7 separate regions of the Homo sapiens genome follow, and all the other regions are linked to region 6. The links are contacts of gene promoters, found by promoter capture Hi-C in blood cells and fetal thymus (Javierre and others, 2016). All regions are on one chromosome and are shown on one strand. Each heading gives the region's core, a stretch centred on a gene start or on the middle of the fragment in contact. The rest is flanking DNA. Distances are from core to core; before and after follow the strand shown. Region 1 has its middle 10 kb from the start of TRAK1. Region 2 has its middle 64 kb from the start of TRAK1. Region 3 overlaps ULK4 (unc-51 like kinase 4). Region 4 has its middle 34 kb from the start of TRAK1. Region 5 has its middle 32 kb from the start of ULK4. Region 6 holds the start of ZNF620 (zinc finger protein 620). Region 7 overlaps TRAK1 (trafficking kinesin protein 1).

Region 1 (3,151 bases), core at 137-2,636, 1.6 Mb before region 6:
AGTAGATGATGAATGTGGTCTTGAAAAGGTTTTAAAATGCATTAACAAATTGAACCCTCATTCAAGCCTTCTTTAACTTGTACTTAGACATATTCTATCTGATCCATACACAGAAGTTGGAAATACTTTCTCACTTTGCAAAATGCAATTGTTCTTCTGAAAACTAAGACAGTTTCATTTAAATCAATATGATTTTGGTTTTTTGTGTTTTTTTTTTTAACAAAGGCTCTAATATGTAAAGATTTCTCTGGTTTTTGTTTGTTTGTTTGTTTGTTTTTTGAGACAGGTTTTGTGCTCTGTCTCCCAGGCTGGAGTGCAGTGGCGCGATCTCGGCTCACTGAAGCCTTGGCCTCCTAGGTTCAAGCAATTCTGCCTCAGTCTCCCAAGTAGCTGAGACTACAGGCACGCACCACTACGCTAGGCTAATTTTTTATTTTTGATAAAGACGGGGTTTCACCATGTTGGCCAGGCTGGTCTCAAACTCCTGGCCTCAAGTGATCCACCCACCTCAGCCTCCCAAGGTGCTGGGATTACAGGCGTGAGCTGCCAGGCCTGGCCCTAATATGTGAAGATTTCTTAAAGAGGTTTTACAACCAAGCTTTATATAACTTTCGCTTTCACTACCTATAAAATGAGGGAGATGGCCTAAATCATGATCAATAGCCCTAAATCACTACTGTTTCTCCTCCTAGTATCGATGTTTCCATTTATAGCTGCCAGACACTTAACCCAGAAACATACTGCTACAAAAGAAATATTTTAAGTATAAGCACTTCCTGAAAAAAACAAAATTTGGAGACATCAGCAAATGCTCACCTCACTCAAGACTCAAAAGGGAAACACAAGCCACAGTTCTGAAATCCAAAGAACATTTTACATGTACAGCAACTGGCAAAGCTATTCAGAAGCCTGAGAGGCCCCTCTTGAAATGACAAAACTAAGCTTTCACCCAGTAAATTCAAGTGGAAAACAACCAAATTTCTATTCGTAGAAAAACAGTTATAAATTATGGCACATCCAAACTACTGAATTCTGTAAAATGTAAGGCACTTATCCATATAAGGCACTTACCTCTGTGTCTAGTACAAATTAGATTCTCAAAATAATTACTGTCATTAACATTATAATTTCCAGATTCTCAGAATCTGGCACCTTTCTTGGTTCTACTATAGTATTCATATGCCAGCATTTCCAAACCTACTTTACTATGGATCCTTTCTCCACATACCTATCTACATGGCATTTGTTTCATGGAGTACATTTTGGGGAATGCCTCTCTATCTCAGACACAAGCTTCATGCATTGTCCATTGACCACCATTTGTCCAGGGCTGATCTCCCCCAAAAAATTGTGTGCTCCTTGAAAGCATGGACCGGTGTTGGCACATATTAGGTACTAAGTAAATGTCTGTAGAATAAATAACAACAAATGAAAGAAGGGGTTTGGTGCAAATGACTCTGAGGATCCCCTGAAGCTTTAAAGCCCAGGTTCTATCATTTATACTGGAACCAAAGGGTCTAAACTCCCAAATTTCACACTGCTAACCTTGAGGACTAACAGAAATCAATGAAAACCACCTGAGGGACTCCTAAGTGTTCCAAGTATGCAGACCACAGCCCATGGGCTCTCTAGGCTGGCTCGAGTTTAACCTTACTTCATTTTCAACACAGACCAATATACATCAAATGTGGCTCACAGTGGCCAGGCCCAGTGGCTCACACCATAATCCTAGCACTTTGGGAGGCCCAGGCGGGTGGATGGCCTGAGCCCAGGAGTTCAAGAGCAGCCTGGGCAACATGGTGGAACCCTAACTCTACAAAAAAATACAAAAAATTGACCAGGATTGGTGGCATGTGTCTGTGGTCCCTGCTACTAGGGAGGTTGAGGTGGGAGGACCACCTGAACCCAGGAAGTTGAGGCTGTAGAGAGCCATGATTGTGCCACTCCACCCCAGCCTGGGTGACACAGTGAGATCCTATCTCAAAAAAAAAGAGTAGTTTAATAGTCAAACATGTAAAATGACCCAGATACAATTCAAGGATCAGGAGACCTCATTTACAGACTACTCAAAAGCTGGTTTGTAAGGCCTCCACCCACTTTCTAGCTTGAAGAATGAGTCACAGCATGTGCCCTCTGGGGACACCCAGGAATTTGTAGGGCAAAGGTGACAATCTTTCCCCAAGGTGCCAGCCTAACTTCACTCTAATGTAAACAGGCATTTCTGAGGTTTCACAGGGGCTCAGGAACAAAGCATCCACTGCCCTGGATGTTCTCTGGCTCCAGCAAACCCTGGCACACCAGGCAAAAGGCTTCTTTCAGGCAGAGGAAACAAACAAGGCTTAAGAAAAGTGAGAGTGGATGGCATGGCCCTGAGAGATGAAAGCGCCTCTGTTTAGTTTACTGAATTCTGCCTAGAGAGCTGCAGGAAGGCAGGATTTTTCTTAGCAGAGGAGTGAGAAATTCTGCAACCAGGTCAATTTTTCAGCAAAAGAGGTGCCAGGAATAGTAGTAGGATAAAGTATACATGGAAGCTGAGCCTGGGGTGGGTGGCCCAGGTCCCCTGCCCCACTCTTCTCAACTCAATGATCAACAATTCCGGCCCCCAGTTTGTCAAGAGTACTTAACGCACGGTTGTTCAACGTTATGCCAGTTTGCTACTGAACTCAAATTTGCTGACAAAATACACGTGTGCAAGTTCCTAATATTTTCTCCCCGCTACCCTCAACCGATGTCATTTCTGTGACTCAGAACCTTAACTAAAACTCAAAGCTGTGTGACACTGAGGAAACTGTGTTATGTCCCTGGGCCTCAGACCCCTCATCTGGACAAGGAAGGGATCGAGCAACCTTCAACACACTGCCTTCCAGCTATACCACTCCAGGAAGTACAAAAGAGGGCAGGTGGAAATGCAGAAGGATTTGTGCACCCTGGTAAGTCCTTCTCCACTCCCTGGTGCAATGATTGTGAAACTATTCTCACCCACACACAGGTAACTTCCAGTAGGAGATCACGAGCAGACAGAGCTGCCCTTTGTAAACAATAAATCACTGATTTTGCAAGGGGTTAAAAAAACAACAAAAAAAAAGGAGCTTCCAGCAGGGCGCAGTGGCTCACGCCTGTAATCCTAGCACTTTAGGAGGCCGAGGAGGGC
Region 2 (3,445 bases), core at 455-2,954, 1.5 Mb before region 6:
CACTCCCCTGCAGCTTCCTCCATACTCAGAATCCTCCAGTAGTTCCCAATCATATGCAGATTAAAATACCCACTCCTTACAACAGCCAGCAGGCCAGTGGGATGCAGCCGTCCCCTGACTATCTCCTGGCTTCATCCACGTCCACTATCCCCAGGGTCCCCTGCACTGCAGCCACACTGGCCTTCTCACCAAGGCCTCTGCACTTGCTGTTTGCTCTGCCTGGGAAGCTTTTCCTCCATATGTTCCCATGGCTCAATCCCCATTCAATCTCTGCTCACCTATAACCTCCCTAAAGACACCTCTGCTGCCACCTCATTCTCTCCCCTAGTCACTACCTGGTATCATATCCTACATCTATTACTACATTGGGTCTCTTTGGTCTGCCCCCAGACCTGGACTGTCTCATTTACTGTCATAACTCAGTGCCTGGCCCAGGGAAGCCACACAGCTCACACTTAGCAATCACTGATCTAAGTGGGTCTCCAGCTCCCCATTCTGCCAGGAATCCCCTGACTCTAATCAAAGGTGATTCTTACCTGCGGAAGACCTGTAAAATCAGAGTGAACCATGTATTTCCGGAATAAACATAAACCACTCAGCAACTCTACTGGGGAGCAGCATGTAAACACGTGGCCCACGGCCTGGTGTTCCGGCACCTGTATCCACTAGTTTGTAAGAACAGAGGCTGTGGCCGGGGGTGGTGGCTCATGCCTGTAATCCCAGCACTTTGGGAGGCCAAGGCAGGTGGATCACCTGAGGTCGGGAGTTTGAGACCAGCCTGGCCAACATGATGAAACCCCGTCTCTACTAAAAATACAAAAAATCAGCTGGGCATGATAGCTGGCGCCTATAATCCCAGCTACTCAGGAGGCTAAGGCACAAGAATGGCTTGAACTCAGGAGGCGGAGGTTGCAGTGAGCCAAGATCGCACCACTGCACTCCAACCTGGGCAACGAGAGCGAAACTCCATCTCAAAAAAAAATAACAGAGTCTGCCATTGAGATAAAAGGCTTCCTACTTTATGATTCCCCTCCTTCAGATAAAATTAGAGAAGTGAAAAATGGTTGTTCCTGGTTTTCTTTCCCAGTCTCTGAATTCGCAGGGAAATAAACATATTAATAAATAATTAGTTACCCATTTCAGTACCTCTATTCTCATACTGGCCTCACTGTATAGTTTAGGTTTGGGGCTTTTTAAAAAATATTTTCTACAACTAAATAATGTTTAAAATACAAAAGTACTTTTTGAAAATAGATATATTTACTTTATTTTGAAGAAAAACGCCTGGATTAGAAAAGCTTTACTTTTTTTTTTTTTCAGATGGAGTCTTGCTCTGTCTCCCAGGCTAGAGGGCAGTGGCGTGATCTGGGCTCACTGCAAGCTCCACCTCCCGGGTTAACGCCATTCTCCTGCCTCAGCCTCCCGAGTAGCTGGGACTATAGGTGCCCGCCACCACACCTGGCTAATTTTTTGTATTTTTAGTAGAGACGGGGTTTCACTATGTTAGCCAAGATGGTCTCGATCTCCTGACCTCGTGATCCGCCCGTCTCGGCCTCCCAAAGTGCTGGGATTACAGGCGTGAGCCACCACGCCCGGCCAAAAAGCTTTTCTGAAAATGTACTTCTGACAGTTGTGGCCATTATTAGAGTAAGATATGCCACTAATGTATGCACATATTATCTCATTATTTTTGAAATAAAAATGATGGGGTAATTAATTTTGTGCTTAGCTATAAAATTAGTGTAAATATATCAAAATATCAAATTTGAAATAAACAGTAGGAAACAACTATAATGAAGCTTGCATCATTCTGAGATTTTATTAAAGAGTATACATTGAGGTTACATTCACATAAGAGCCCATTTCCTGTAGAAAGTCAGTCTACCAGAGCAGTTATTTAAGTAAATTTGATATTGATTATACCCTATAACTCCAAGCTAAGACATGGGTTACTATAAATATGAGGGGAGAAGGAGGGTCTACACATGGAAGCTTACTGACAAAAGTTGATCACTGGCCAGGCGCAGTGGCTCACGCCTGTAATCCCAGCACTTTGGGAGGCCGAGGCAGGCAGATCACCTGAGGTCGGGAGTTCAAGACCAGCCTGGCCAACATGGTGAAATTCCATCTCTACTAAAAATACAAAAATTAGCCAGGCGTGGTGGCACGTGCCTGTAGTCTCAGCTACTCGGGAGGCTGAGGCAGGAGAATCACTTGAACCTGGGAGGCAGAGGTTGCAGTGAGCTGAGATCATGCCACTGCACTCTAGCCTGGGCAACAGAGTGAGACTCTGTCTCAAAAAAAAAAAAAAAAAAGAGATCACTGATCTCTTTGATCACTGAGATCCAGGATAACAGCTGCAGAAGAGGTGATTAGCCAAACAAACAACACACAAATTGGTATGTAAAAATAATCGGTGCCCTGGCTAGCTTATCAGTCCATTGAGGTAAAAGCGATCCTGTACAAAAACTACCACTGTGCCAGAGGAGTGAAGAGGCAGCAAGCTAACCACGCAATTCAAAACAGGCTCTTGTCAAAAAAATTCTCTAGTATATGATCACCCTGAGACTTACCCACATTTCTTATACTTTCTATGAAATGCTAAGGCTCACTTTTAATCTAAAATAGACAAACTTTCTTCATGTGCCTCTGAGTCCTCTTCTAGTTTCACAAAGGATTAAATAAAAAGGGCCTCAAAGGACAAAAGAAGGAAGTATAGAAAGGAGGGATGGAGGGAGAGACAGGGAGAATGAGAATACAGAAAAATAGAGGAAAGCAAGAAAGAGACAGAGGGAGAAAGATAAACGGAGAAAGAAGAAAGAACAAACAGCAGAGAGAGAAACAAAGAAACAGAGACAGAGGAAGAAAGAAAAGAAAAAAGTTCATGGGAAAAAAATAGTGATGCATTTCATGGAAAAGCTATTTGTTAAAGAGTCCCTCTTTTTTCTGTGTACAGTATCATGCCATATGTGGGAAGTGAACAAGGCTGGAACACCGCCTAAGAACATCTGCCACGGACTTTAAAAGCCCTAATAATAGCACAGCTGGTGTCCCCAGCCTAATGAGCTCACCACCCACGTGACTGCTCCTTCTCCAGCAGATTCTCCAGAGAGAGAAGGCAGCCAGCAAGAGAAGCAGTCCCCGCCCCCGCCCTCCCCCACATTCATGCTTTATTTCCTCCACGGCTTTCATTCTCCCCTTCCAGAAACCACCCCTTCTCATTTTCTTGAGCTAAGTTACCCTGATCCAGCAGTCCTTTGAACAGACACATTCTTCTTTTCTCCTTCCCCTCTCCCTTTGAACAGACACATTCTTAACATGAAAGGCAAATACCAGAAATAAAATATGGGGACATCACTACAGGTCTTATGGACATTGAAAGAGTAATAATTGTGCCAATTAATTCAGTAGCTTAGATAAAGTGGATAAAGCCCTTAAAATACAC
Region 3 (3,105 bases), core at 182-2,681, 1.4 Mb before region 6:
TATTGGAAGTCATTTGACCATATGTGTGAGGGTTTATTTCTGGGCTCCTTATTCTATACTGTTGGTCTATATTTCCATCTTTATGCCAGTACTATACTGTTTTTATTATTGTAGCTTTGTAGTAAGCTTTGGAATCAGGAAGTGTGTGTTTTCCAGCTTTTTTTTTTTTTTCTTTTAAGATTGTTTTGGCCGTTTGACATACCTTGAGATTCTATATGAATTTTCGGATAGATTTTTCTAGTCCCACAAAAATAGTTGTTGGGATTTTGATAAGAATTGCATTGAATGCATACATTGCTTTGGATAGATTGATTTTGGGTAGTATTTGAATGTTAATTATTAATATCTGAAAATTGCCTTCTAATTCATAAACACGTGATATTTTCCCACTTATTTGTGTCTTTTTTTTTTTTTTTTTTTTTTTTGAGACGAAGCCTCGCTCTGTCCTCCAGGCTGGAGTGCAGTGACACAATCTCGGCTTACTGTAAGCTCCGCCTCCCGGGGTTCACGCCATTCTCCTGCCTCAGCCTCTTGAGTAGCTGGGACTACAGGCGCCCGCCACCATGCCCAGCTAATTTTTTGTATTTTTAGTAGAGATGAGGTTTCACCGTGTTAGCCAGGATGGTCTCCATCTCCTGACCTCGTGATCTGCCCGCTTCGGCCTCCCAAAGTGCTGGGATTACAGGTGTGAGCCACCGTGCCCAGCCTATTTATGTCTTTTAAAAATTTCTTTCAGAAGTTTTTTGTAGTTTTTGTTGTGTAAGTCTTTCCACCTGTTTGGTTAATTCCTATGTGTTTTATTCTTTTTGCTGCTATTATAAATGAAGTTGTTTTCTTGATTTCCTTTTTCGATTGTACATTTGTTAATGTATAGAAATTCCCCCTGGACATTGTGGCTCACACCTGTAATCCCAGCACTTGGAGAGACCGAGGCAGGCGAATTGCTTGAGCTCAGGAGTTTGAGACCAGCCTGGGCAACATGGTGAAAATGTGTCCCTGCAAAAGATACAAAAATTAGCTGGGAGTGGGCCAGGCGCGGTGGCTCATGTCTGTAATCCCAGTACTTTTGGAGGCTGAGGTGGGCGGATCACTTGAGGCCTGGAGTTCAAGACCAGCCTGTCCAACACGGTGAAACCCTGTCTCTACTAAAAATACAAAAAAATCAGCCGGGCATGGTGGCACATGCCTGTAGTCACAGCTACTTGGGAGGCTGAGGCAGGAGAATCACTTGAACTCAGGAGGTGGAGGTTGCAGTGAGCCAAGATTGCACCACTGCACTCCAGCCTGGGCAACAAGGCGAGACTCCGTCTCAAAAATTAGCCGGGGGTGGTGGCATGCACCTGAGGTCCCAGCTGCTTGGGAAGGTGAGGTGGGAGGATTGTTTGAGCCTGGATGGCAGGGGTCGCAGTGAGCCATGATTGTGCCACTGTGCTCCAACCTGAGTGACAGACTGAGACCTTGTCTCAAAAAAAAAAAAAGAAAAATAAAAATAGAGTTTTGCCAGTACCTGCATCAATCAAAACTCATCAGACCGTGCCAGGTGTGGTGGCTCATGCCTATAATCCCAGCACTTTGAGAGACCAAGGTGGGTAGATCACTTGAGCCCAGAAGTTCAGGACCAGCCTGGGCAACATGGTGAAACCTTGTCTCTAGAAAAAATAGAAAAATTAGCCAGGCATAGTGGTGTGTGCTTTACTCTCAGCTACTTGGGAGGTTGAGACAGGAGGATTGCTTCAGCCCTGGAGGTCGAGGTTGCAGTGAGCCGCGATCATGCCACTGCACTCCCGCCTGGGCGACAGAGACACTGTCTCAAAAAAAAAGAAAGAAAAAAAAAAAGGCAGGTGTGGTGGCTCACACTTGTAATCCCAGCACTTTGAGTGGCCGAGGAGGGGGCAGATCACTTGAGGTCAGGAGTTCGAGACCAGCCTGGCCAACATGGTGAAACCCTGTCTCTACTAAAAATATAAAAATTAGCCAGGTGTGGTGGTGGGCATCTGTAATCCCAGCTACTTGGGAGGCTGAGGCAGGAGAATCGCATGAACCTGGAAGGCAGAGGTTGCAGTGAGCTGAGATCGTGTAATTGCGCTCCAGCCTGGGCAACAAGAGTGAAATGCTGTCTCAAAAAAAAAAAAAAAAATTCCGCTAATCTTTAAGTGTTGGACCTGGACTTTGTATTTTACTTTGCAAAATTTGTTTTTGTTTTGACAGTTTATTTTATGGAAACTTTACTTTTTGTGTGTGTGTGTGTGTGTGTCTGTGTGTGTGACAGAGTCTCAAAGTCTATCCAGGCAGGAGTTCAGTGGTGTGATCTTGGCACACTGCAACCTTTGCCTCCCAGGTTCAAACGATTCTCCTGCCTCAGCCTCCCGAGTAGCTGCGATTTCAGGTGCCTGCCACCACGCCTGGCTAATTTTTTTGTATTTTTAGTAGAGACGGGGTTTCACCATGTTGGCCAGGCTGGTCTCGAACTCCTGACCTCAGGTGATTTGCCCACCTTGGCCTCCAAAAGTGCTGGGATTACGGGCCTGAACCACCACGCCTGGCCTTAGGGTTTTCTACATATAAAATCAATCACATCATTTGCAAACAGAGTTAATTTTACTTTTTTCCTTTCCAATTTGGATGCCTTTTTTTTTCTTGTGTAATTGCTCTGGCTAGGACTTTTTATACCTTCTTGACTAGAAGTGGAGAAAGCAGACATTCTTGCCTACTTCTTAATGTTAGAGGAAAAGCTTTACTCTTTCACCATTGAGTATGTTGTTTGCTTTGGGTTTTTCATATATGACTTTTATTATGTTGAGATAGTTTCCTTCTATTCCTAGCTTTTGGAGTTTTTTTTTTTTTTTTAAAGGTTGTTGAATTTTGCCAAGTGCATTTTCTGTATTAATTGAGATGATCATGCGTTTTTTTCCCCTTCATAATGTGGTATATTACATTTTCGTATGTTCAACCATCTTTTGTTTTCCAGGAATAAACCCACTTGGTTATCGTGCATAATCCTTTTAATATACTGCTGAATTCAATTTGCTTGCATTTTGTTGACATATCTAGCTTTTACTAAGATAATAAGATATTTAGCATAGTGCCTGACACTTAATAAACACT
Region 4 (3,475 bases), core at 352-2,851, 1.6 Mb before region 6:
AAAAAAAAGTTCCCTGAAGTCCAAAGCCTACTTATATCATACGTATGTATATTTGTGTGTATACATATACATACAAATATATACACGCATGCATACACACCTGGATTTATTTTAAATTCAGTAAATTAGCACTTTATCTTTAAAAAAATTGCAGCACAGAGCAGATGGTAAAGAGTAAATCTCTTAAGATACACATTTTTTCACATTTCAATATCTCTAAAATTGAATTTTGTCTTATAGCCAATCGTCCTTTACTATGCTTACTTTGTAGCATTTTTTGCTTTCTTAGAGGTACATAAAGCAATGGCGTATCTTACGATCTGTTGTGTGTGGGGGTGGGAGCTCAGCGCAACAATTCAAATGGGCCACCAAACAATGGGCAAGGCCCACAATGGACATTAAAGGGAGATCCCTGCATCAGCCAGGAGGTAGGACAGGTTGACTTTAAAGGTTCCCTCCAGGCCAGGCATGGTGGCTCATGCCTGTAATCCCAGCACTTTGAGAGGCCGAGGCAGGCAGATCGTCCAAGGTCAGGTGTTCAAGACCAGACCAGCCAACATGGTGAAACCTCGTCTCTACCAAAAATACATTAAAAAATAAGCTGGGCGTTGTGGCGGGGGCGCCTGTAATCCCAGCTACTGGGGAGGCTGAGGCAGGAGAATTGCTTGAACCCGGGAGGCAGAGGTTGCAGTGAGCTGAGATCACACCACTGCACTCCAGCCTGGGCAACAAGAGTGAGACTCTGTCTCAAAAAATAAATAAATTAAATTAAATTTAAAAATAAAGGTTCCCTCCAGTCCTCAGTTATCATAATAAAGATGAACATGATAAAATGAAATTTAAAGGCAAAAGCATACTTACAAACAAACCTTGTCTTCGTCAATCTCCACAACTGCCAAGGTACATGAGTATTATCTATATTTTAAAGATGAGGAGGTTCCAAGGAGTATTTTACCCAGAAGCCGGCCACAAGTCTCACTTCCCAATGAAATGCCCACTGTGGCAGAGCAGTAAGAGAAGCAGCAGCCAAACCAGAAGAGCTTAAAGGTGGCAAAAATAACCCAACCAAGGGGCGAAGGGCAAACCTGGGTAGCAGTAAAGGAGGAAATGATATTTGAGTTCAGCTTTACAAGGAAGCTCACTGAATGACATGTTCAGGTTTACAGGCATTTAAAATGAAAACGCCTTTCAGTTGGTTGTATTTTCTGGTTCCTTCAAATACTTAAGAATAAAAGCACAAACTGATTAACATGGTGTGGGCCACGTGTCAGGTGAACCAGGGTGAGTTCTCCAGGTTACAGGACACTTGATGGAGGAGAGACATGTGGCCTGCCCAAGATGCAAATGAGACAGAGCCAACCCCAGAATCTAAGTTCGTCTGCTCCCTTTCTGCTTGGCCACACACAGCAGGTCAGTGCTCGCCTTCCAGCAGGTTCTCCTCAGATCACAAGATGAGAGCAGCAGATACAGCATCACCAGCAAACATAACAAAACCTCCCCAGGAAACTGCAGCCCACTTGTTCTGATCCCAATCGGCCCAGTCACAACTACAGCAAAGGGAATGGGGCCACTGTGATTGGCCTGGACCAATCAATACCCACTGGACGCCTCCTCAACCCCTACTCCAGCATGCTGCAAAGGAGGCTTAAGAATGGAATGAAATCTGGATTCTATTAGGAAAGAAGAAAGTGTGGCAGAGATGGATGTGAATTGGCAATCAATTTCTGTTACTCCCATCATTCACCCTTCATTCCTTCCCTTCTTCCTTCATTCAAGAAGCAGGACCGTGAACCTACTGTCAGTCTTTGTGGAGAAAACAATTGCACAAAACTGGATTCCAGCCCTCCAGGAGCTCATGGTCCATCCATATTTACATAAGAATATTCCATTTTCCTTGGTATCCAAAGTAGCACTGGACAGCCCAGGTGGTCTAAACAGCAAAGAGTAATTTAGAGTGCCTTTAATTACTGCACCTTAAAATGCACCAGTGTCCTAGTTCCCATCTTCATGATCACTGCCAGCCAGGAGGTTGCTGGATCTCAATCGGCCAAAGTGGCAGAAGGTGCCCTTCACCAGGTCCCTGTTCTATTCATGGCAGCTGTGCACGGCTCAGGTTACAGGTTGGTTCAAATCCACAGAAAACTGGCTCCTCTAACTGAGGCAATTTTGGTACTTTACTTTGTCTCTCACACAAGATTTTTATTTTTAAAATCCTAATATTGGAAATAGAAATGTTGAGCTAAAAGGTATTAAGAAGGATGTAGAATAGCCTATTATTACAATCGGGGCAGAAAAAAGGACTGTGAATTCAAAAATATACAAGCACTCAATATTGTATCCTAACATGGCATACATTTAAAGGTTAAGATATGAAAAATGCATACTTTTATGTTGCACTTGGGACAATATTAAAAAGTGGAAATTTTAACCTTTCTTCTAGATTTCTGGGTAAACAAAAGAATGTTTTTAATTTCAAAATTTCTAATAATTCTCCAGGGTAAAATAATCTCTTTAATAATCAGCTAATAACTTTGCTCAATATAATTTTAAAATCAATTATATAAAATATTTCTGCTTCTGTTGAAATGTTTTTAACATCTGTTATCCAATAATTATTTCAATAATAATTTCAAAAGTCAACAAGCACATGAAAAAATGCTCAACATCATTAACCATCAGGAAAATGCAAATCAAAACCATAATGAGATACCACTTCATACCCACAAGGATTTCTATAATCAAAAAGACAGATAATAACAAGCATTGGCAAGGACATGGACAAACCAGAACCCTCACTCACTGCTGGTGGGAATGTAAAATAGCGCAGCCACTTTGGAAAACAGTCTGGCAATTTATCAAAATGTTAAATACAGAGTTACCACATGATCTAGCAATTCCTCTCATAGGTATCAACATAAAGAAATGAAAACAAATGTCCACAATAAAAAAAAGTCTACAGATGTTCACAGCAACATTATTCACAATAGCCAAAAAGTGGAAATAATCCAAAAGTTTACCAACTAATGAAAGGATAAACTAAATATTAAAAATACATAACAATGGAATATTATACAGCAATAATAAGGAATGAAGTACTGATACCTACTACAACATGGGTGAACTCTGAAAACGTTATGCTAAGTGAAAAAAGCCAGTCACAAAGGACTACATATTGTATGATTCCATGTATAACAAATGTCCAAAAGAGGAAAGTCTATACAAACATAAAGTAGATTAGTAGTTGCCTGGGGCTAGAGGATTGGGGGAAATGGGGAGTAACTGCTAATGGATACAGGGTTTCTTTTGCGGGTGAAGAAAGTGTTCTAAAATTTATTGTGGATGGCCGGGCACAGTGGCTCACATCTATAATCTCAGCACTTTGGCAGGCGAGGAAGGAGGATCGCTTGAAGCCAGGAGTTCAAGACCAGCCTTGGCAACATAAGGAGACTCCATCTTTACAAAAAAATTAAAAAAT
Region 5 (3,051 bases), core at 386-2,885, 1.5 Mb before region 6:
GACCCTGTCTCAAAATAATAATAATAATAGGGCTGGGTGTGGTGGCTCACACCTGTAATCCCAGCACTTTGGGAGGCCAAGGTGGGCAGATCACGAGGTCAAGAGGTAGAGACCATCCTGGCTAACATGGTGAAACCCCGTCTTTACTAAAAATACGAAAATTAGCCAGGCATGGTGGCATGCGCCTATAGTCCCAGCTACTCAGGAGGCTGAGACAGGAGAATCACTTGAACTCAGGAGGCAGAGGTTGCAGTGAGCTGAGATCGTGTCACTGCACTCCAGCCTGGGTGACCAAGTGAGACTCCGACTCAAAAAAAAATGAATAAAAATTAATAATAATAATAATCCGAATAAAAAGGCTAAAAGACCACATGCAAAACACAGTGATGCAAGATGAACCTGGAGTATCTTGTAATGCCAGGAAGTAAAGACATACTAAAACAAAAACTAAACCCACAATCATGGGGTTTATGTCAAAGGGGCATGGGAGTCAACTGAAAAAGTTTCCAGTGGCCAAAGCTGGAAGAATTTGAGCAACAAAATAAATAAAGTAGTATTGGATTATAACTCAAAGTACAAAATAAATATCCATGAATCCATGTTGACATAAATACATAAATGAATAAATACATGGGGAAGAAGAAAAAAAATCTCCCATACAGAAGAATTCCAAATAAAGTATGTAGAACTCCACTTCTAACAGATGGAGCATAACTCCCACTCTGTCTGTGTGGGCTGTGCTTAGTGACTTCCTTCAAAAGAGTACAGTATGGCTTGGGCATCGTGGCTCATGCCTGTAATCCCAGCACTTTGGGAGGCCAAGGTGGGCAGATCACCTGAGGTCAGGCGTTCGAGACCAGCCTGGCCAACATGGCAAAACCCTGTCTCTGCTAAAAATACAAAAATTAGCCGGGTATGGTGGTGCACACCTGTAGTCCCAGCTACTCGGGAGGCTGAGGCAGAAGACAGGAGAATCACTTGATCCCGGGAGATGAAGGTTGCAGTGAGCTGGGATTGCGCCACTGCACTCCAGAGTGAGACTCTGTTTCAAAAACAAACAAACAAAAAAAGAGTACCTTCACAGTGGAGACAGTTGACAAACACTTCCTCAGGCAGTGAGGTGATCAAGATTGACTCAACAGTAATAAGTCATGCCAATAGTATGTTCCCTTAGTAGTATGTGATGGGAATGGCACTTTATCTCCTTTATCTCCATGCTCCTCCTCCCCAAAACCAATAGCCCCAGTCTGGTTATGAGAAAAAGATCAGACAAATACCAATTAAGTGACAGTCTAAAAATACCTGATCAGCAATTCTCAAAATTGAAAGGTCATCAGAAACTAGGAAAGTATGAAAGACTGTCAGAGGCAGAACCCAAAGAGACAAGATGATTAAATGTAATGGGGTATCCTGGATGGGATCCTGGAACAGAAAAAGGACATTCAGTAACAACTAAGTAAATATGAACAAAATGAGGACTATCATTAATAACAAGCATCAGTATATGTTCATTAATTATGACAAATGTACCATACTAATGTAAGAGGTTAATAGTAGGGGAAACTGGGCGTGGGGCATATGGAGACAATTTGTATTATCTTTTTAATTTTTCTGTGAATCTAAAATTATTCTAATATAAAAGGTTTATTTTAAAAATAGTGATAAACATTGAAACCAGTATGATTTAAAGTTTAAATAATTTGGCCAGGCATGGTGGCTCACACCTGTAATCCCAGCACTTTGGGAGGTCAAGGCTGATGGATCACTTGAGGTCAGGGGTTTGAGACCAGCCTGACCAACATGGTGAAACTCTGTCTCTACTAAAAATGTAAAAATTAGCTGGGCGTGGTGGCACATGCCTGTAGTACCAGCTACTCCAGAGGCAGAGGTGAGAGAATCACTTGAACCCGGGAGGCAGAGGCTGCAGTGAGCCAAGATCATGCCATTGCACTCCAGCCTGGGCAACAGAAGGAGACTCCATCTCAAAAAATAAAATAAAATAAAATAAAATAAAGTTTAAATAATTTGTTCCTCATAGTATAGTGGTTAAATATTTTTAAAAGAAAAAGTTTAAATAATTTGTAATATGATGAAGATAGTTAATGAATTGGTTACTAAAGAAATGTTTAAGTATAAAAAGTAAATATAATTTCAAGTTAAAATATGCTATTTCTACAAAATCTGGGAAGTCATAGGAGAAGGAAGAGGATGGAGAAACGAGGTAAATTGAGAGGTTTCACCCGGGCGTGGAGGCTCATGCTTGCAATCCCAGCACTTTGGGAGGCCAAGGCGGACAGATCACTTGAGGCCAGGAGTTCGAGACCGGCCTGGGCAACATGGCAAAACCCTGTCTCTACCAAAAATACAAAAATTAGCCAGGTGTGGTGGTGCGTACCTATAGTCCCAGCTACTCGGGAGGCCGAGATGGGAGGATCGATTGAGGCCTGGAGGTCGAGGCTACAGTGAGCTATGATTGTGCCACTGAACTCCAGCCTGGGTAACAGAGCAAGAACCTCTATAACTAACTAACTAACTAACTAACTAACTAACTAAATAAATAAATAAATAAATAAATAAATGTAGGTTTCATCCTGTGCTGTGTATAGTTTTTATGGAGAAATATAATTTTTTTAGATATTAGGTGTTAACTGAAATTGTTATAGGACACCTAAATCAATAGAGGAGAAACTGATAAAGCATAATATAGTCAAAACATGAAATATGACAAGAATAAGGCCAATGAGTTATCAATGGTTATAGTAAATATTAAAAGGTTAAATTCTCCTTTAGAAAGAGAAGGCTTGAGACCGGGAGTGGTGGATCACACCTGTAATCCCAGCATTTTGGGAGGCCGAGGCAGGTGGATCACAAGGTCAGGAGATCAAGACCATCCTGGCTATCACACTGAAACCCCATCTCTACTAAAAATACAAAACAATTAGCCGGGCATGGTGGCGGGTGCATGTAGTCCCAGCCACTTGGGAGGCTGAGGCAGGAGAATGGTGTGAACCCGGGAGATGGAGCTTGCAGTGAGCCGAGATCACGCCACTG
Region 6 (3,092 bases), core at 117-2,616:
ACATTAACAAAGAGAGGCTGGGCACGGTGGCTCACGCCTGTAATCCCAGCACTTTGGGAAGCCAAGGTGGGGGAATCACGAGGTCAAGGGATCGAGACCATCCTGGCCAACATGGTGAAACCTGGTCTCTACTAAAAATACAAAAATTAGCTGGGTGTGGTGGCGCGTGCTTGTAGTCCCAGCTACTCGGGAGGCTGAGGCAGGAGAATCGCTTGAACCCCAGAGGTGGAGGGTGCAGTGAACCAGGATCGCGCCACTGCACTCCAGCCTGTCGATAGAGCAAGACTCCATCTCAAAAAAAAAAAAAAAAAAAAACCATATGGTCATCTAAATAGACACAGAAAAAGCAATTGTCAAAATCCAACATCCATTCCTATAAAAACTCTCACCAAAGTAGTACTAGAAGAGAATGCCTGATAAAGGACATTTACAAAACAAAACAAAACAAAAAAGCAAGAAACCTACAGTGAACATCAGTCTTCAGTGTGAAAGATTGAATGCTTTCACTTTAAAAGCATAAATAAGACAAAGATATCTGCTCTCACCACTTCTGTTCAATATTGAAATAATGCTTCTAGCCAGTGCAGTAAGGCAAGACAAAATAAAATAAAAGGCATCCAGACTGGAAAGAAAGGAGTAAAACTATCTTTACTCATAGATGACCTATGTAGAAAATACAATGGAATCTACAAAACAGTTACTAGAATTGCTATACTGAAGAAGTAAGTACTTCTCCAAGCCTGCGGACTAGGGTGAAAGGGGTCTTTATTGGATGTAATAATGCAGATTTCCACATTTCATAATTTTTATTTTTAAGCTGGCTTCAAATGCCAAATCCCAACCAATCCCCCCACACTCACTAGTTTTCTAGTCTTAATTTGGGCATTCTCACCTCTCCATCCCTCTCATAGTGACAGATGCACAATGGAAGCCACTGGCCTACACAACTCAAGATCTGAATGCAGAGGTGACACCTGCTCTCTCTTGACATCTAAAGGGTGGGAGGGAGGGAGAGGATGCTCACTCACCTGGCGCCAAGCGGTCTGGAACATGGCTGGCGTCCCAGCTTCACACACTGCCTCAGGGTTCGGAGAAGTGAAACTGAAGAGAAAATAAAGAAGCACCGGTGAGATTGATGCTGCCTCGCACCCCGCAAATGCCCTCTGTGCTACTTGGGCCCCTCTCCTTTCCGCCAACTCCTCACCCCAAAAAGCAAAGGGGTTGCAAAACCAGGCAGAACAAGCCCCAGGAAAACCAATCAGTTACCCGGACCGCGAACCTCTTCAGCTCGGACCGCGAATCCCGCGCGGCGCAGGCGCAGATAAAGCGTGGAAATTCCACCTGCCGCCGACACCGGGGAAAGCTTGAGACCCTCCGCCGGAAGTGCGTTTTCCATGCCCCTCCTCTCTAGGAACCTGGGAAGTTGCCAGTCTCTGTGGTTTCCTACCCCCGCCGTCAGCGCCAGTGTCCCTACTGCCTGAGACAACACGGGCCCGAGCGGGCGGCCCCAGGCAGGGGTCCTGCAGCGCCCACACCTGGTAGCTCCTTCGGGGCATGACGTCTGGCCAGCTCAGGCCACAGAATGGTTACTATCCTGGGTATTATTCGTGGTTATCTGGCATTTGCCACTCTGGGTGTCCTTCCAGATAATGAAGGGACCATCGCGCCCTTCACATGCGCCAAAACTGTCTGGATTGTGTGGGTGCGCTGCAGTGGGAAAAGTGGGTGTGGGGAAAGGCGAACCCATTACTCAGAAGGCCGAATGTGTATGGACTACGTAGGTCCAGAAACCCAGCTGCACCACTTGCTAGTTGTGTGACCTGCAGCAAGTTTCTTTGCCCCGGTTTCCTTGTCTATTAAATGGGTATTATGATGGTGGTACCAACCTCTTGAGGCTGTTCAGGGTTAATTCATTAAATTAGTTAATTGATAGGTAAATTATTTACAGTTGTGCCTGGCACATAGTATGTACTCGTGAGTTTGTATTGTTTTGTTTTCCAATTGTGTTTTTTGAAGACACAAAATAGGTGCTGCTGGGACTCCAATATGTGGCGTGCTTTAGGGAAATAGATTTTTTTAAGGACAATTTTCGAAGTTTAGCGAAAGAGCTATTAACATTTGGCTTAGAGCCCTTTCCTGCCCTGTACTGGGATGTGTGTCCCGGCCCAGCCTGGAAACAGATTTTAGTTATTCCTTCCACAGGAATTAGATTTATCCACCACTTTCAAAACAAGTCCTGCCATGGAGAGTATATTATGTATCTACTGCTGGATAATAAACTACTCTAATGCTTTGTGGCTAAAAACAATAAACATTGTTATCTTTTGACAGTTTCTGTGGACCCAGAATTCAAGAGCAGCTTGGCTGGGTGGTACTGGCTGAGGGTCTCTGCTGAGGTTGCAGTCAGGTGTCATGTGGGGCTGAAGTCATCTGAAGCTTGACTGAGTTTGGAGGATCCACCTCCAAGGTGGTTTACTCACATGGCTGTCAAGTGGGTGCTGGTTGTTGGCAGGAAGCGTCAGTTCCTTCCCATGTGAGGGTTTTCACAACATGGCATGTAGCTTTCTCCCAAAGTGAGCAATCCAAGAGGCCAAGGCCAAAGCTTTTATGACCTAGTTTTGGAAATCATGCATCATGATTTCCTCAATACATTCTCCTCAGATTAGTCATGATTCAGTGTGGGAAGAGATACACAAGGTTTGAATGCCAGGATATGAGAACCATTGGGAGCCATTGTGGGGCCACCTAGCACAGAGATTTTAACTGTCACAGAAACAGTTCATTTTATAAAATCTATAGTATTTTCACTTTAAAGTTTATGCACAGCACTTGTTTTAAATAATTAGATTTCCAGAAACAATGGCATGACAAGGACATACATGTGCATACTGTCCCTTCGCTAAACCTATTAAAATGAACATTTACCATGAGTGGGTGCACATAAACGTACATACATATACACCACAAATTCTAAACAGTATTAGCCAGTGGAAAAAAACATGATAAATTGGACTTAATCAAAGTTAAATCTTCTGCTTTTCAGAAGATACTTTTAGAGAATGAAAAGACAAGCCACAGACTGGGAGAAAATA
Region 7 (3,481 bases), core at 418-2,917, 1.6 Mb before region 6:
CTTTAAAAATCCTTGCTCGCTTGAGACTCAGGCCATCCAGCTGGGTTACCCCCGCCTATGCCCACTCGTCCACCCATCAGCAACTCCGCCCCGGTAGAGGTTGGCGGCCGTCCTCTCCACCGAGTGCAGCCACTCATCCAGGCTGCCACTGCCACCCCTACACCTGACACCACCTGACTCCCCAGCTCTCAAGTCTGGGACCTCCACGGCCCTCCTATCACATGCCACTTCTGCCAGCCACACCCGGGCCACCTCTGAAATCTGGAATTTAGATACCCCCTCCCTGACTGCAACCCCCTTCCCCCACAGCTCTCCCTCAGTTATCCCCGCTATTCCATGGAGACCCCCAGCCCCTCAATTCCTCTGCATGGCCTCTACCGCCCACTTCCTGTCCAGCTGGAATCCCCCAGCCCTTTGGCTCCAGCAACGCTGGTGCCTAAGGCTCGGCCTCCCTCACTCTCGTGGGACTTTCACGGCACCCATACAGCAAAACCCAATTCTGGATGAAACCACCTGTCCATCTTGCTCTCCCTGCAACTGGGCTCCAAGGGGTACACTGTGGACTCCCATGCTCAAAAGGCCCACCCTGCTAGGCGCTCCTTCTTTTCCAACACCATGATAGAAGGTAGCAGAGTAGGAAGTGAGCCTGGACCAGATAAGGCCTCAAAAGGGCAGTAAATTTGTAAATTAGGGCAAAACCACCTTCTAGGCAGCTTCCAGTCACCCCAAAGGGTGAGCTGGCTGGAGCTCTCTGTTCTCTTTCTCCCTCCCTCTCTCCCGCAGGTCAGGTTCCCTCCACAGAACTCACGGTCTTCAGCCTTCCTGCTTCACGTTATTGATATCCTCACCTCTTCCTTCCCATTTAACTCCAGCTAATAATTCAAAAGACTTACTGCACACTCACAACCTGCAGACTCAACTGGGAAAGGGTCAGTTGACCACAGGCCCAACCTCCCTTCCTCCATGTGCTGGAAAAGCACAAAAGAACATTAACCCAGTACGACCCGTGAAGTGCCTGCTGCCTGTACTTAAGAAGCTCTACTGAATGCTGCAAAGCTTCTAAAGGCGTCACCAACCTAGATCCACCTCAGCTGTATAATTATTAAAAAGAAAAAAAAAGAAAGCCATTGTTTCTTCAAGGAAGAGGAGGTGGAGAGAAGCAGAGAAAGGAGGGGAGTGGGGATGGAGGAAGAGAAGAAAGGAGACAGCAAGGGGAAGGACAGATATCAGGGTGAGGAGGAGGGGAGGGGAGAGGAAACAGACAGAAAGTGGGTAAGGAGAGATGGAGGAGAGAAGAGGGTGAGAAGAAAAAAAATGAAACGAAGGGAGGAAAGGAAAACTTAAAGGTCCTCCAAGATACTCCTCCGGAAATAGAAACATCACTGGACCCTGGTGTTCACATAGTTGTCAGTATCACAGCAGTTTACAAGGTGAGACCTCCACAACCCTTCCCAGAGCACACTCTGATGGACCAACCTATCAGTATGTGTTTGGTCTGTTTTCTAAGGCAGATGTCTGGGAAATTTAAAAACTCAAATCATAAACTGTGTGGTGAGTCCTTGATATAAAGTTCAGGTACGCCCAGCAGGTGCCGCATGGTATTCAAAATCCAGAATTCGAAATCCAAGCCTACCAGGCAGTGATGTGCTACATGAGGGATGGAAAGGAAAGTATAAAAATAGGATATAAATAGTAATTAGAATTTTGGAGGCAATCACTCCATGAGCTAAAAGTAGAAACTGTTAAGCATTTATCTCAGATCACAGAAAAGACAATAAAAATTCCTCCAGGAAATACCGAAAATGCTCAGCCTCTACACACTGAGGAACGTAAATCAAGATCAGGGGCTGCTGCCGTTTATACACCTCAGCTGGCAAAGAGCAAATGTGCTCATACCAGGGGTGCAGACAGTGAGCGCCCACACACTTCTCCCACATCGTCTGAACACACACCATATACAACCTCTATGACTCACTCCATCAAATTACAGTCCCCAGCCTAGGAATTCACACAAGTACATTCATTACTTATTTGTTTAAATATGTGGGAACATGGCTATCCCCAACCCAGTGGTATTTGCAGAATACTGGAAACAATCTACTTGTCTTACAATAGGGAATTAATTAAATCAATCGTGGGATTTATAGACAATGAAAAATAGGCAGCCAGCAAAAAGAATATGATGGATGTATGCTAAGTGGAAAGGTCTCCAATATAGATTACTGAGGAGAAAAGGCAACAATATGTTTAGTATATGTTCCCGTGTGTAGAAAGCTTTCAAAGCAGGGGAGGGGACATACATACCATACAAACGCATGCACAGAACATTTTTGGAAAGATAAGCAACAGTCATTCCCTTGGGAGGAAAGGCAGAGGTCTGGGAATAAGATGAAGGTGGAAAACCTCAAAGTGTATTCTTTAAACTGTATGCATTTTTCTTGTTGCACACTGTTTAAGCCAATGCTTCTAAGAGTGAGTAGGAATGGTGCTTGAGGCACCATTTAAAATGCAAGAACTGAAAACAACTTACAGCACCCATCAATGGGGGCTGCTGCAGTGGTTCTGTCTTGGACCCTTGAGTAGCCAGCATGCTTCACTGCCTTTGTGGCTGCCCCCTTCACAGCAATTCTACCTGCAGGGGCAGGGCCTAATTGCTCATTATGTGTTCTAATGAGGCCACGTCCCCTCAGCGACATTTGAAATACAAGCTATGTCATTTTTCTTTAGTTTCTCCTTTATAGTACGGTAAGGCATTATACTGATTCTTTTAAAATTATGTGTTTGGCCATGCGCGGTGGCTCACGCCTGTAATCCCAGCACTTTGGGAGGTCGAGGCGGGCAGATCACTTGAGGACACGAGTTCGAGACCAGCCTGGCCAACATGGCGAATCCCCATCTCTACTAAAAACACAAAAAACTAGCCGAGTGTAGTGGCACACATCTATAGTCCCAGCTACTCAGGAGGCTGAGGCAGGAGAATCACTTGAACCCGGGAGGCAGAGGTTGCAGTGAGCTGAGATCACACTACTACACTCCAGCCTGAGCAACAGAGCAAGACTCCATCTCAAAAAAAGATAGAAATAAAATAAATAAAATTATGTTTTTAAGAGGATTCGTTATCTATGAATTTCATTTAAGGGTAACAAAAAAATGAATTACAAAATGCTTCTTCTAAAAAGAAATATTAGGTATTCCAGGACTGAGAGCTGCTGAGTTTTCCTAGCCTGTTCAGGCTGCTAGAGCAAAATACCATAAACTGGTGGCTTGTCAACAACAAACATTTATTTCTCCCAGCTTTGGGGACTGACAAGTCCAAGATAAAGGCACCACCAAATGTCTGGTAAGGGCTTGGTTCCTGGTTCACGGATGGCACCTTCTCACTCTGTCCTCACAGGGTAGAACAGGCTAGCTAGCTCTCCAAAACCTCTTTTATAAGGCCACTAATCCACTCATCAGGGCTCTGCCCCTGTGACCTAACCAC

The links. Contacts are between HindIII fragments. The CHiCAGO score rates a contact against its expected background, and 5 or more counts as called.
Region 1: a contact is called between a fragment that was not itself captured here and the fragment with the promoter of ZNF620 in region 6, in 3 of 17 cell types (activated CD4 T cells, total CD8 T cells and naive B cells). The highest score is 8.2, in activated CD4 T cells.
Region 2: a contact is called between a fragment that was not itself captured here and the fragment with the promoter of ZNF620 in region 6, in 6 of 17 cell types (activated CD4 T cells, naive CD8 T cells, total B cells and 3 more). The highest score is 9.0, in activated CD4 T cells.
Region 3: a fragment that was not itself captured here is called in contact with the fragment with the promoter of ZNF620 in region 6 in 2 of 17 cell types (non-activated CD4 T cells and naive CD4 T cells); the score reaches 6.3 in non-activated CD4 T cells.
Region 4: a contact is called between a fragment that was not itself captured here and the fragment with the promoter of ZNF620 in region 6, in 1 of 17 cell types (fetal thymus). The highest score is 5.1, in fetal thymus.
Region 5: a fragment that was not itself captured here is called in contact with the fragment with the promoter of ZNF620 in region 6 in 1 of 17 cell types (total CD4 T cells); the score reaches 5.4 in total CD4 T cells.
Region 7: a fragment that was not itself captured here is called in contact with the fragment with the promoter of ZNF620 in region 6 in 2 of 17 cell types (M0 macrophages and total CD4 T cells); the score reaches 6.3 in M0 macrophages.

Annotation. Positions count from the first base shown.
Region 1 is chr3:42,079,724-42,082,874 of GRCh38, reverse strand. It overlaps a transcript of TRAK1 not described here. Among named protein-coding and RNA genes, the nearest start is that of TRAK1, 10 kb to the left of the region's middle. The HindIII fragment of the contact is 181 bases long and covers 1,296-1,476 here.
Region 2 is chr3:42,025,395-42,028,839 of GRCh38, reverse strand. It overlaps a transcript of TRAK1 not described here. Among named protein-coding and RNA genes, the nearest start is that of TRAK1, 64 kb to the left of the region's middle. The HindIII fragment of the contact is 195 bases long and covers 1,607-1,801 here.
Region 3 is chr3:41,948,465-41,951,569 of GRCh38, reverse strand. The region is part of intron 2 of ULK4 (unc-51 like kinase 4); the gene reads left to right. Among named protein-coding and RNA genes, the nearest start is that of ULK4, 12 kb to the left of the region's middle. The HindIII fragment of the contact is 2,606 bases long and covers 129-2,734 here.
Region 4 is chr3:42,055,629-42,059,103 of GRCh38, reverse strand. It overlaps a transcript of TRAK1 not described here. Among named protein-coding and RNA genes, the nearest start is that of TRAK1, 34 kb to the left of the region's middle. RefSeq lists an enhancer at 1,472-1,581. The HindIII fragment of the contact is 4,315 bases long and covers 1-3,475 here.
Region 5 is chr3:41,993,035-41,996,085 of GRCh38, reverse strand. No RefSeq gene overlaps it. Among named protein-coding and RNA genes, the nearest start is that of ULK4, 32 kb to the right of the region's middle. The HindIII fragment of the contact is 8,427 bases long and covers 1-3,051 here.
Region 6 is chr3:40,504,313-40,507,404 of GRCh38, reverse strand. ZNF620 (zinc finger protein 620) reads right to left here and starts at 1,366. Exons shown (of 5, transcript NM_175888.4): 1 at 1,267-1,366; 2 at 1,029-1,101. The coding sequence starts at 1,052. The HindIII fragment of the contact is 1,073 bases long and covers 1,366-2,438 here.
Region 7 is chr3:42,095,856-42,099,336 of GRCh38, reverse strand. The region is part of intron 1 of TRAK1 (trafficking kinesin protein 1); the gene reads right to left. Among named protein-coding and RNA genes, the nearest start is that of TRAK1, 6.2 kb to the right of the region's middle. RefSeq lists an enhancer at 399-1,221. The HindIII fragment of the contact is 1,218 bases long and covers 1,059-2,276 here.